Linked DNA regions of Homo sapiens: all the other regions are linked to region 3. The links are contacts of gene promoters, found by promoter capture Hi-C in human tissues and cell types (Jung and others, 2019). All regions are on one chromosome and are shown on one strand. Each heading gives the region's core, a stretch centred on a gene start or on the middle of the fragment in contact. The rest is flanking DNA. Distances are from core to core; before and after follow the strand shown.

Region 1 (3,085 bases), core at 436-2,935, 180 kb after region 3:
CCATCTGATAATCCTTGGTATCCTTAACCTGAATTGTTATGTTCCTGGCATGTGTAGACAGGGCATTGAAATAAATGTTTTCAGAGAAAAAAGCTTGGTTCATTAATTACATGGAAGTGCTGGCCCTGAAACTGAATGTTGGGTTCTAGTCAAGCACAATGTACAGAAATAGGTCAAATGACTCTAGTGAGTTGAAGGGTACATGCATTTTTATATCTACAGAGGTGAAAAAAAAACCACACAGGTTTTCCATCATTCATGGTCTCTGCGGACTTAATCTTCAAGCTTTGAAATATCTTGTTCTCCTTCAGTATCTGTATAAAAGCACCCATTTAAAAAATGAAATAGCTTTTCAGTTTACTCTACTATTATCTTAATTGTTGGAACTTGGAGTTTTTCCTTGGAGGTCAGCTTTGGTGAACTTGGTCCACTGCTGTGTCCTGGCCAGACTTTGCATCTTTACCAGCTATTGAAGTGCTATTCCCAGGTGGGAAGGAATCATGGCAACTCCTCAGCAGTCTGCAGTAATCCAGCTCCCAGAGCAGCCAAGTCATTGCTCTACCAGCCATGAGAATAGCATTCCAGAATTACCTTTATTCCCAGCTTTTCCATGGTCGACACCTGGCTCAGTTACTAATAGGAAGAATCTGACTGAACGTTCCAGGGCCCAGGTGAATTTTTTTTTTTTTTTTTTAAGAGCAGAAGAAGCTGAAATATATGAAAGCAGCCAAATAACAGTAAGATCCTGGTCTCTAATATATTTTACTCCATTCCACAGAGTATGATGTGGCAAGATAAGCTTTAGTTTCGCTTCTCCTTTCAGACCCTGTATTCATTCCTTCCTTATGCAAGGAGTACACCTTTGGAATAAGTATGCAAATTTTTTTTTTTTTTTTGAGACAGAGTCTGGATCTGTCACCCAGGCTGGAGTGCAGTGGCGCGATCTCGGCTCACTGCAAGCTCCGCCTCCCGGGTTCACTCCATTCTCCTGCCTCAGCCTCCCGAGTAGGTGGGACTACAGATGTTCGCCACCACACCCGGCTAATTTTTTTTATTTTTAGTACAGACGGGGTTTCACCGTGGTCTCTATCTCCTGACCTCGTGATGCGCTCGCCTCGGCCTCCCAAAGTGCTGGGATTACAGGCGTGAGCAAACTTTTTAATAGAATAATGCAGCTGACTTATGCTGTGAAAGGCAGCCAAGAGAGAAAGGTTTTATATTTTACAATGGCTCTACTCTTAAGTATCTATCCCATCCCATCTAGTGATTCACTGAATTTCCATTGAACAGCAGCAGAGCCTCTTATGTAACTCCTTCAAGTTAGAGCCTGGAGCCCTAGGGTCAAGGACGACCAGTAGAGGAGGCTCAAGGGGCATGAAAGAAAGCGAGGAGAGTATTCAGAGTGAAGTAGCTATTTTTTAGGCATAAAGGGTGCATTTGTAAGGAGTGAAGGAAATATCTGTGCATTCTTGTTACTTTGTGTGCTTCAGTGGCTATCTAGTAGAAATGTATTTGTTCTGATAATGCACTGCACTACGGGTCCTCCCAGACATTTTGGAACTGAAAAAGGAATATACTGCTCTTCTTCCATTACACAATCTCATTCTTGTCTTTGTTTTCAATCTGTGTTTTGCCCCTGCTCTATAGGAATGTTTATGCTCTAAGCTGATTTATTGATAGTTCTTAGATACATCAGAGATTTCTAGTTAATCATTCTTTATGCAAAAGATTCTGTTTTGGAAATTTATAATGTATATTTATTATTGGCAGGTACATGAATTTAACATTTTTATAAATATTGGTAAATTTCTCTCCAAATAGGTAGTACCTATTGAACATAAATGTAATTTAAATTGAATTTACCGTTAAGAGTGCTGATGAGAATACTTCAGTCTTATTGCCATTTAAAAGCTATATGATATCCAACTAAAATGTTTGCTAATCTAGCGGTAATTTTTGTTAATCTGATTCTAGTTTTAATTTGCGTTTCTTTAATGTCATGAGTTTTAGTATTGTTTGAAATGTTTATAAGCTACTTCTGTTTTTCTTTGTGTTTGCCTTTTGTGGTTACATTTTTATGCTCTTTATAGGATTTCCGATTACATTTTTGTTTTTTCTTATTGGTTTGTAAGAGTTTTCTGTATGTTAAAGAAATATATCTTTTATCTGTCATATTGTTACAAATATTTTTTCTTTGGTTGTTTTATCTTTGACTTATGGATATATACCCTAGTAAAAATCTACTAAGATTAATAAGAGAAGATGATAAGCTAGCTGGATAAAGAATAACCTTACAAAACTCATACGTCTTATCTATACTGAAAACAGTTTGTTTGAATTGAAAATGAAAAACAATAAAATGCTGACAAAACTATAAAATACTTTGGAATAAATTTTAAAAGACTGATCAGTATCTCCAAAGAGAAATCTATACATTGTATTAAGGGAAAAAGATCTAAATAAAGTTTCAAGTCATACCATGTTTCAGGATGCAGAACATTTATTTTCTATTTTCAAATAAATATAAACATTTAACAAAGTGCTACTTCACTTTTTTTAAAAAATAGAATATCATGTTTAAAACTAAAATGGATAAATATTAGAAAATGGCTTCCCAAATTATGAAACAATCAAATAGTGTTAGGGTTCTTGGCTTGTCAGATACTAAAGCTGATTACAAAGTCACTAGAATAAAAGAAAGATAATAGCAAAGGAATAGGTAAACAGATTAGTAGAAGAGAACCAGAAATATATCTACTATATGCAGAAATGTGATATGTGACAACTGTTGCATTTCAGTTCATTTATTGAAGCAGATGGTTTCTCTAATAAGCGGTGCTAGCAAAAATGGCTGTTCAATTGAAAAAAATACGAGCATATTGTCCTGCCTCACATTATGTAGAAATTGAAATGTAACATAGATAGTAGTTTAAATATTAAAAAATAAGAAGTTTGGAAGAAAACATAGAAAAACATTTTTAAATATCTTAAAGAATATTTGTTTAAGCAAGAAAACAAACCCATGAACCTTAAAAACTCCCTAAAGATTAAAAGGTATATAAGCCCAGAAAAAATATATAAGCAA
Region 2 (3,448 bases), core at 466-2,965, 170 kb before region 3:
CACTTTTCTTTCTTGCACCTAGTAACTGATTTGTCAGCCAGTTCTATAGGGGAAAATACATTCTCAATCTGGCTCTTTCTTTGCATCCTCCGTGGTACAATCCTGAAAAAACAGCTGATGGCATTCCTCTGCTGAAAACCTTCCAGTGACTTCCCATCTCATTCATAGTAAATCATCAATACTATCTACAAAGGAACTTTAAGATCTACCCTGTTATCTTTCTGATCACTCTCCTTCCTAGTAAGTTCCCCTCATTATCTCCACTTGCAGATTGTTTGCACAATTATCCATAATTATTTCCTCCTCCCAATCTATACCCCTTTATAATGTGACTTTCCAGACTGTTTCATCACAAGCTATTAATATGCATCCCTTTCCCCACCTCAATAATTTGTATTAGCCTTGAAACCTGCTTTCACTTAAAAAATGCAGTAGAAGTGACAGCATGGCAGTTAGGAATAGAGGCTTCAAGTGGAGCTGCAGCCTTCCCTTTGCTCTCTTGGAACCCTCCCCTGTTACCATGAGAGTAATTCTGAGCATGCCTGATGGATGGAGGATGAGACTGGAGTCAGGTACAGCTTACAGACATCCAACCTCTAAACATGTGGGTCCTTTCTACATGCTGACATCATCAACAAAACTGCCTACCCAACTGTGATATCATGATATAAGAGGAAATATACATTTGGTCTTCACCTCTCGTTTCCGATAAAAGAGTTGCCAAGACCCTTGGAAGCTCCACAGTAATGGGTGTCTTTCGGTGTCCTGATGAGATGACTGGTGGCTGGGGGCCTCGAGGAGAGTTTCAAGTTGGAGGCTGATACCCAAGAAAGACAAAGGCATGATCAGAGTGTGGAACGTTCATACCCACCACTCCCAGTGGAGCTACAGATTATGCTAATCACCGATGGCCAATGATGTAATCAATCATGCCCATGTAACAGAACCCCCATTTAAAAACCCTAAACAATGTGGTTCAGAGAGCTTTCAGGTTGGGGAACATATCCACATGCCGGGAGGGTAGTGTATCCCAAAGCCAAGGGGGACAGAAGCTCCTGCCTTAGGACTTCTCCAGATCCCACCCTCTGTACCACATCAGCTGGCTGTTCACATTCATCCTTTATAACATCCTTTTATAATAAATTGTAAACATAAGTGTTTCCCTGAGTTCTGTGAGCCATTATAGCAAATTACCAAACACGAGGAGGGAGTTCTGGGGACCCACTAGTTGCAACTGGCATTTAAAGTGCATGGCAATCTAGTAGGACTAAGTCCTTTACCTGTGTGTGTGTTGGAGGGTGGTGGTCTGTGCTTACTCTGAATAATGTCAGATTGAATTAAATTGTCGGACACCCAGTTGGTGGCCACAGACAACTGGCAAATTGTTTGATGTATAAAACCCAGATGTTTAGTGGCAGAAGTGTTGTGAGTACAGGAACAGTTTTCCTTTACCAACCCACGTAACTGGCACATGAATGAGCCCACAAGATCTGCCTAGCTGACCTTAGACTTGTGAGTAAATAAATAAATCAGTGTTTAAAGCCATTAATTTTGGGGGTAGCTTATGATACAGCAAAAGCTAACTGATATCATTCTCATGTCTCAGGGCCTCTGCACAAGCATCCCCACTTCCTGGAAGGTTCTTCCTTTGGCTGAGCAAATGGCTTGCTTCTCCACCCCCTGCAGGTCTTAACTCAGAAGTCACCTGCTCAGTGAGGCTCTCCCTCACTTTAACTGCTAACAACCTACTGCAAAGCATGCTACCTCTTCTCCTGCGTTATTATTCTCCTTCTCACTAGTAATATACTTAATATTTTAATTATTTGTCTTGCTTATTTCCTCTATGGGAGGTCAATGAAGTCAAGTATTTTGCTCTCCGCTGCATCATAGGTGACTACAATAATGCCTGTTATATAGAATGACTCCATAATTAAAATATGCTAAAATAATAATGGAATATGATTTCCTACATAATATATCAAAAAAACTTAAGTTAATAAATCTGGCAAGAGCAGAGAGAAATGTAAATTGTCTTATACTGTTGATGAAGGTTAACTTAAGCAACAATATTCTGGAAAGCAAGTTGTCAACTTAGACTTAAATACATTTTTTAAAATTTATAACTTCTGGAGCATGTCTTAACGTCTGTGAAACTACTGTAAGTGTCACAAACTCATACACTTATAATACTACTTAATGTTTTTATAATACTTAACAAAGTTTTATTTACCAAAGATTTACTTATAAAAAACTTATAAGCTGTCTGGGCGCAGTGGCTTACGCCTGTAATCCCAGCACTTTGGGAGGCCAAAGTGGGTGGATCACCTAAGGTCAGGAGTTTGAGACCAGCCTGGCGAAACCCCGTCTCTACTAAAAATACAAAAATTAGCCGGGCGTGGTGGCGCACGTCTATAGTCCCAGCTACTTAGGAGGCTGAGGCAGGAGAATCATTTGAACCCGGGAGGCAGAGGTTGTAGTGAGCCAAGATTGCGCCACTGCACTCCAGCCTGGGTGACAAAGTGAGACTCTGTCTCAAAAAAAAAAAAAACACACAACTTATGAGCTACATAACTTTCTGATATATGGAGAATGGTTGAGAGATAAAAATGTAACAAAATTTATATATAATGACTTGGTAGCATGTTCATAATATAATGTTAAAAACAGGCATGATATAAAGCAATATATAGATAAAAATCTGTATTTCATTACATGTACACACATACATACACAGAGCAATAAACATACAAAAATGTAAAATTGAAAAAAATTATATATGTAAAAATATTAACAGACGTTATCTATAGAAGTGGGATTTTAGGTTATTTTAACTTTTTTCTTTATGTCTTCCTCTATTCCCCAAATTCATTATAATAATCCTATGTCCATAGGTGGGGGAAAAGTTAGAGGCGATAGCAGAGAATTTGCCTTTTAAAATATATAAAGTTTAAAAGAAAGGTAAATACTAAATGATACAAATTCGAGGTGTTTAATTTATCTTTATATATTTTGTAATTATGACTGCATCAAAAATTACTTGAATACGGTTTTATTTAAAATTGAACAAATAAGCTCAATTAAAATAAATAAGTTCAGTTCAGATTTCTGTCACACAATTTGGCTAAAATCTCACTTTGATAATCCTTGCCTCCTGTATTCTTACTTGATTGCATCCTATTAAAAGCATTAGAGGGCATCAGTGTAATGCATAATCACTAACTCTCTCCTCCCACATCAGAATTAAGCTTTGGCAAGCAACTGCCACATGGAGAAAAGTCGCTGGGAAAGCCCTATTACTGCTAATAGGAATCATAAGACCACACTATTATGCAAAAATGTTCTTTTTACTGACTGATAAAATGCCAAGATGACACAAACTGGAGTTGTTTTTCTTGTTCCTAACACATGGAACAGCTCTCCAGTTACTAATAACCAACTAATGTATAGT
Region 3 (3,091 bases), core at 1-2,500:
GCCAGCCCATTCACCAGATGAGGCAAAAACCCAAGATAAATATCTGAGCAAGTCACGTAGACTGGGGCCCCCGAGCCCCAATACCAAGCGCCCCTTTATAAGCTCTTACATTTTGTCCAAATTTGAAATGGTTTCGTTAAGGCAGAAGCTTGGACTACTTCCCCATTGCTAGCTTTGGAAAGTAGTCACTTTCCTTTCCGGGCCCTTCGTCCTTGTTGATTGGCTCTGCAAGCAGCGAGCAGCCCAGCCTGAACTCGGTTACACAGTAATTTCAAATCTTAGAAGAATAAAATATCCTGAGTGTTATATAGATTTAAAACACTTGATATAATCATTTGCCAATCTTTTATTAGATAAGCTCGGGGCACTTTCAATGGATTAAAAATGCATCACGGTCAGGCAACGATGACCGTCCTTAATGCCTGCAATGTCTAATGTTCCGCTATGTTCCAGATTTGTTCGCGCTGTTGGTGGAGGCGCAACAGCCGGGAAGCGCTTACTGGGCTCCACACGGACTACACACACTGTATCTTGTCATTTCGTCCTCACAGCAAGGACTGATACGTAAGCTCATTTTTCAGATGAGGAAAATGAGACCGGCGAGAGGCTGATATGCTTAGCGGTACAGAGCTAGGAAATCAGGGACAGAACCCAGGCTGGAAGTCACGCTGGCTCTAGAGCCCCGTCCTTTCGACCTGTTCCCGTCGCTGGGGAGGGGCACGTCAGTGACACTAAACCGTGGAAAGAAATACAGTACCAGTGGAAAGCAGGGGCTCCAACGGGGTAAAGGCATGCTCCATAACGGATTATTGGCCTCTGCATTAAAAAAAAAAAAGTGAAGTTAGACTCTCAGTTTTAATTAAACATCGCGCAGAACCAACAGCACGGGAGCCGCCTGAACCTGGCACTCGGCAGCGGCGCGCTCCGGGACCCAGGAGCCAGCTGAGCTGCGGCGCAGCACCCGGCGCTGGGGACCCGCCACGGCTCGCCTACAGCACCGCCGCGGGCGGGGGCCCCCGGAGACCGGCCGCGCGGGCCGCTATGAGGTCCGAGGGGTTGCCCCTGCCGCCTCTCTCCGCGAACCCATCACCATCCGGGAACCTGGGGAGCGAGAGGCGGCCGCCCCCTTCCGCGGCCCGCGCGCCCGGCAGCAGTCGCACTTACACAATGGCTGGTAGGAGCCACAGACTGGAGATCGCAGGCTGCGGGAGCTACGGCGATCGACCGCTCGGCGCTCGGCTGAGGAGCCTTGGCGCGCGGTCCTCGCTCGCAGGTTTTAGCCCCCGGGACGCGAGGTGGCCCCGCCCGCTTCCGGGAGCCGGAGGCAAGTGGGAGCCGCGCCCTGTGCTCTGCGTCCGGCACTACCCACCTCAAGTCTCCAAGGCTTCGTTTTCTGGGCTGGTTCTGCTAGCTGTAGTACTGCTGCCGGGCCCTCTGCACTCAGCTTTAACAAGGAGGCCATTTGCTTCAAACTAAGTGGCGAATTCCCTATCACCCATGCTTGACCTAGCTTCCAAGCCAAACTTACTTTCCACTGTGCTGCTTCTAGTCCTGCTACCGGTGTCCTCCCTGAGCCGTCGGGTTAAAAGCTTTCCTTCCTGGCCGGGTGCGGTGACTCACGCCTGTAATCCCAGCAGTTTGGGAGGCCGAGGCGGACGGATCATGAGGTCAGAAGTTCGAGACCAGCCTGGCCAGCATGGTGAAACCTCGTCTCTACTAAAAATACAAAAAATTAGCCGGGCATGGTGGCGCGCGCCTGTAGGCCCAGCTACTCGGGAGGCCGAGGCAGGAGAATCGCTTGAACCCGGGAGGCCGGAGGTTGCAGTGAGCCAAGATCACACCAGTGCACTCCAGTCTGGGCGACAAAGCGAGACTCCATCTCAAAGAAAAAAAAAAAGCTTTCTTTAGGGAACACTCCGTTAAGAGCTTTCCTTACTTTGCTTTGTGGAAACAGAATGTTTTTGTTGGAAGAAACTTTAAGCCACCTATCTGCAGCTGCAGAGCGTCACTGTTGCAATACAGGCTTTTCCAATAGTGAGCGAACCTAATCTCCCTCTACCCTCTTAAGGTTTCCACCTGGGCCTAAGAGGTTAAATTGACTTAAGACAGTTTAACAGGGGAAAAGCTTACAGCTATGTGCATGGGAGTCCACAAGAAAAGACCCAAAGAAGGAGGAAGCCTAAATGCTTATATACGGGTTTAGCTACAACAAATTTCAAAAGTCCATGTTTAAATATGACCTTAATGAACCTAAAAGACAATTGGGGTACAAGGAAACTATCTGCACATGTAATAGACAAGTGGTTGCCATGTGTTTATCCTATGAAGAGCTGTTACCAGTTGATGTGTCCAGGTTCTTGGCGTCTTGAACAAAGAATTGGACAAAACGCACAAAGCAAGGAAAGAATGAAGCAAAAACAGAGATTTATTGAAGATGAAAGTACACCCCATAGGTTGGGAGCGCCCGAGGATAGGGGCTCAAGAGTGCCGTTAGAGAATGTTCTGGGGTTTAAATGCCAGCTAGAGGTTTCCATTGGTTACTTGGCTTATGCCCTATGTAAATGAAGAGGATGAAGTAAATTTTAAAGTCATTTACTGGATATAAGCCCTGTGTAAATGGAGAGGATGTTTCCTGTCATTGCTGAAGTACTGCAATTTGATTTAGTTCCAGGAAGTCAGCATGAATCGGCCTTAACATTCCCTGCCTCCAGACCCTATTCTGCCTCAGAACTACATGTCCATTAGTAAAAGGCAAACCAGAAAAATTATGACCAAGGATATAAACAGGCAAGGCAAATTATAGAAGGTAGTCAAATGGCAAAAACACATCACCAATATTCAGAACGAAATCTTGAACAATGAATTCAATGGCAGATTGTAACCAATTTTTTAAGCAGTAATAAAAATTTACACTTACTGATCAATTATTATGTTCCAGTCAGTGTTGAGGTCTTTTATATTTTATTTAATTACCCTAAAATGTAGGCTCCAGGAAAACAAGGACCAAAATTTAGTTGTTGGCCCTTGAATCCTCACTCTAGCACAGTTTACTTGTTAATGATTTGTCTCCCCCTACTAGAGAGCTAGCTCT

Evidence for each region. Contacts are between HindIII fragments. The study calls those that stand out against the background at their distance.
Region 1: a contact is called between a fragment that was not itself captured here and the fragment with the promoter of TPK1 in region 3, in 2 of the 25 tissues and cell types used here (mesendoderm cells and thymus).
Region 2: a fragment that was not itself captured here is called in contact with the fragment with the promoter of TPK1 in region 3 in 1 of the 25 tissues and cell types used here (hippocampus).

The regions. Positions count from the first base shown.
Region 1 is chr7:145,014,919-145,018,003 of GRCh38, forward strand. No RefSeq gene overlaps it. Among named protein-coding and RNA genes, the nearest start is that of TPK1, 180 kb to the left of the region's middle. The HindIII fragment of the contact is 4,293 bases long and covers 1-3,085 here.
Region 2 is chr7:144,667,030-144,670,477 of GRCh38, forward strand. All of the region lies in intron 4 of TPK1 (thiamin pyrophosphokinase 1), which reads right to left. Among named protein-coding and RNA genes, the nearest start is that of TPK1, 170 kb to the right of the region's middle. The HindIII fragment of the contact is 3,383 bases long and covers 25-3,407 here.
Region 3 is chr7:144,834,803-144,837,893 of GRCh38, forward strand. It overlaps TPK1 (thiamin pyrophosphokinase 1), which reads right to left and starts at 1,251. Exons shown (of 9, transcript NM_022445.4): 1 at 1,165-1,251; 2 at 758-816. The coding sequence starts at 800. RefSeq lists a silencer at 992-1,091 and an enhancer at 1,392-1,461. The HindIII fragment of the contact is 4,228 bases long and covers 869-3,091 here.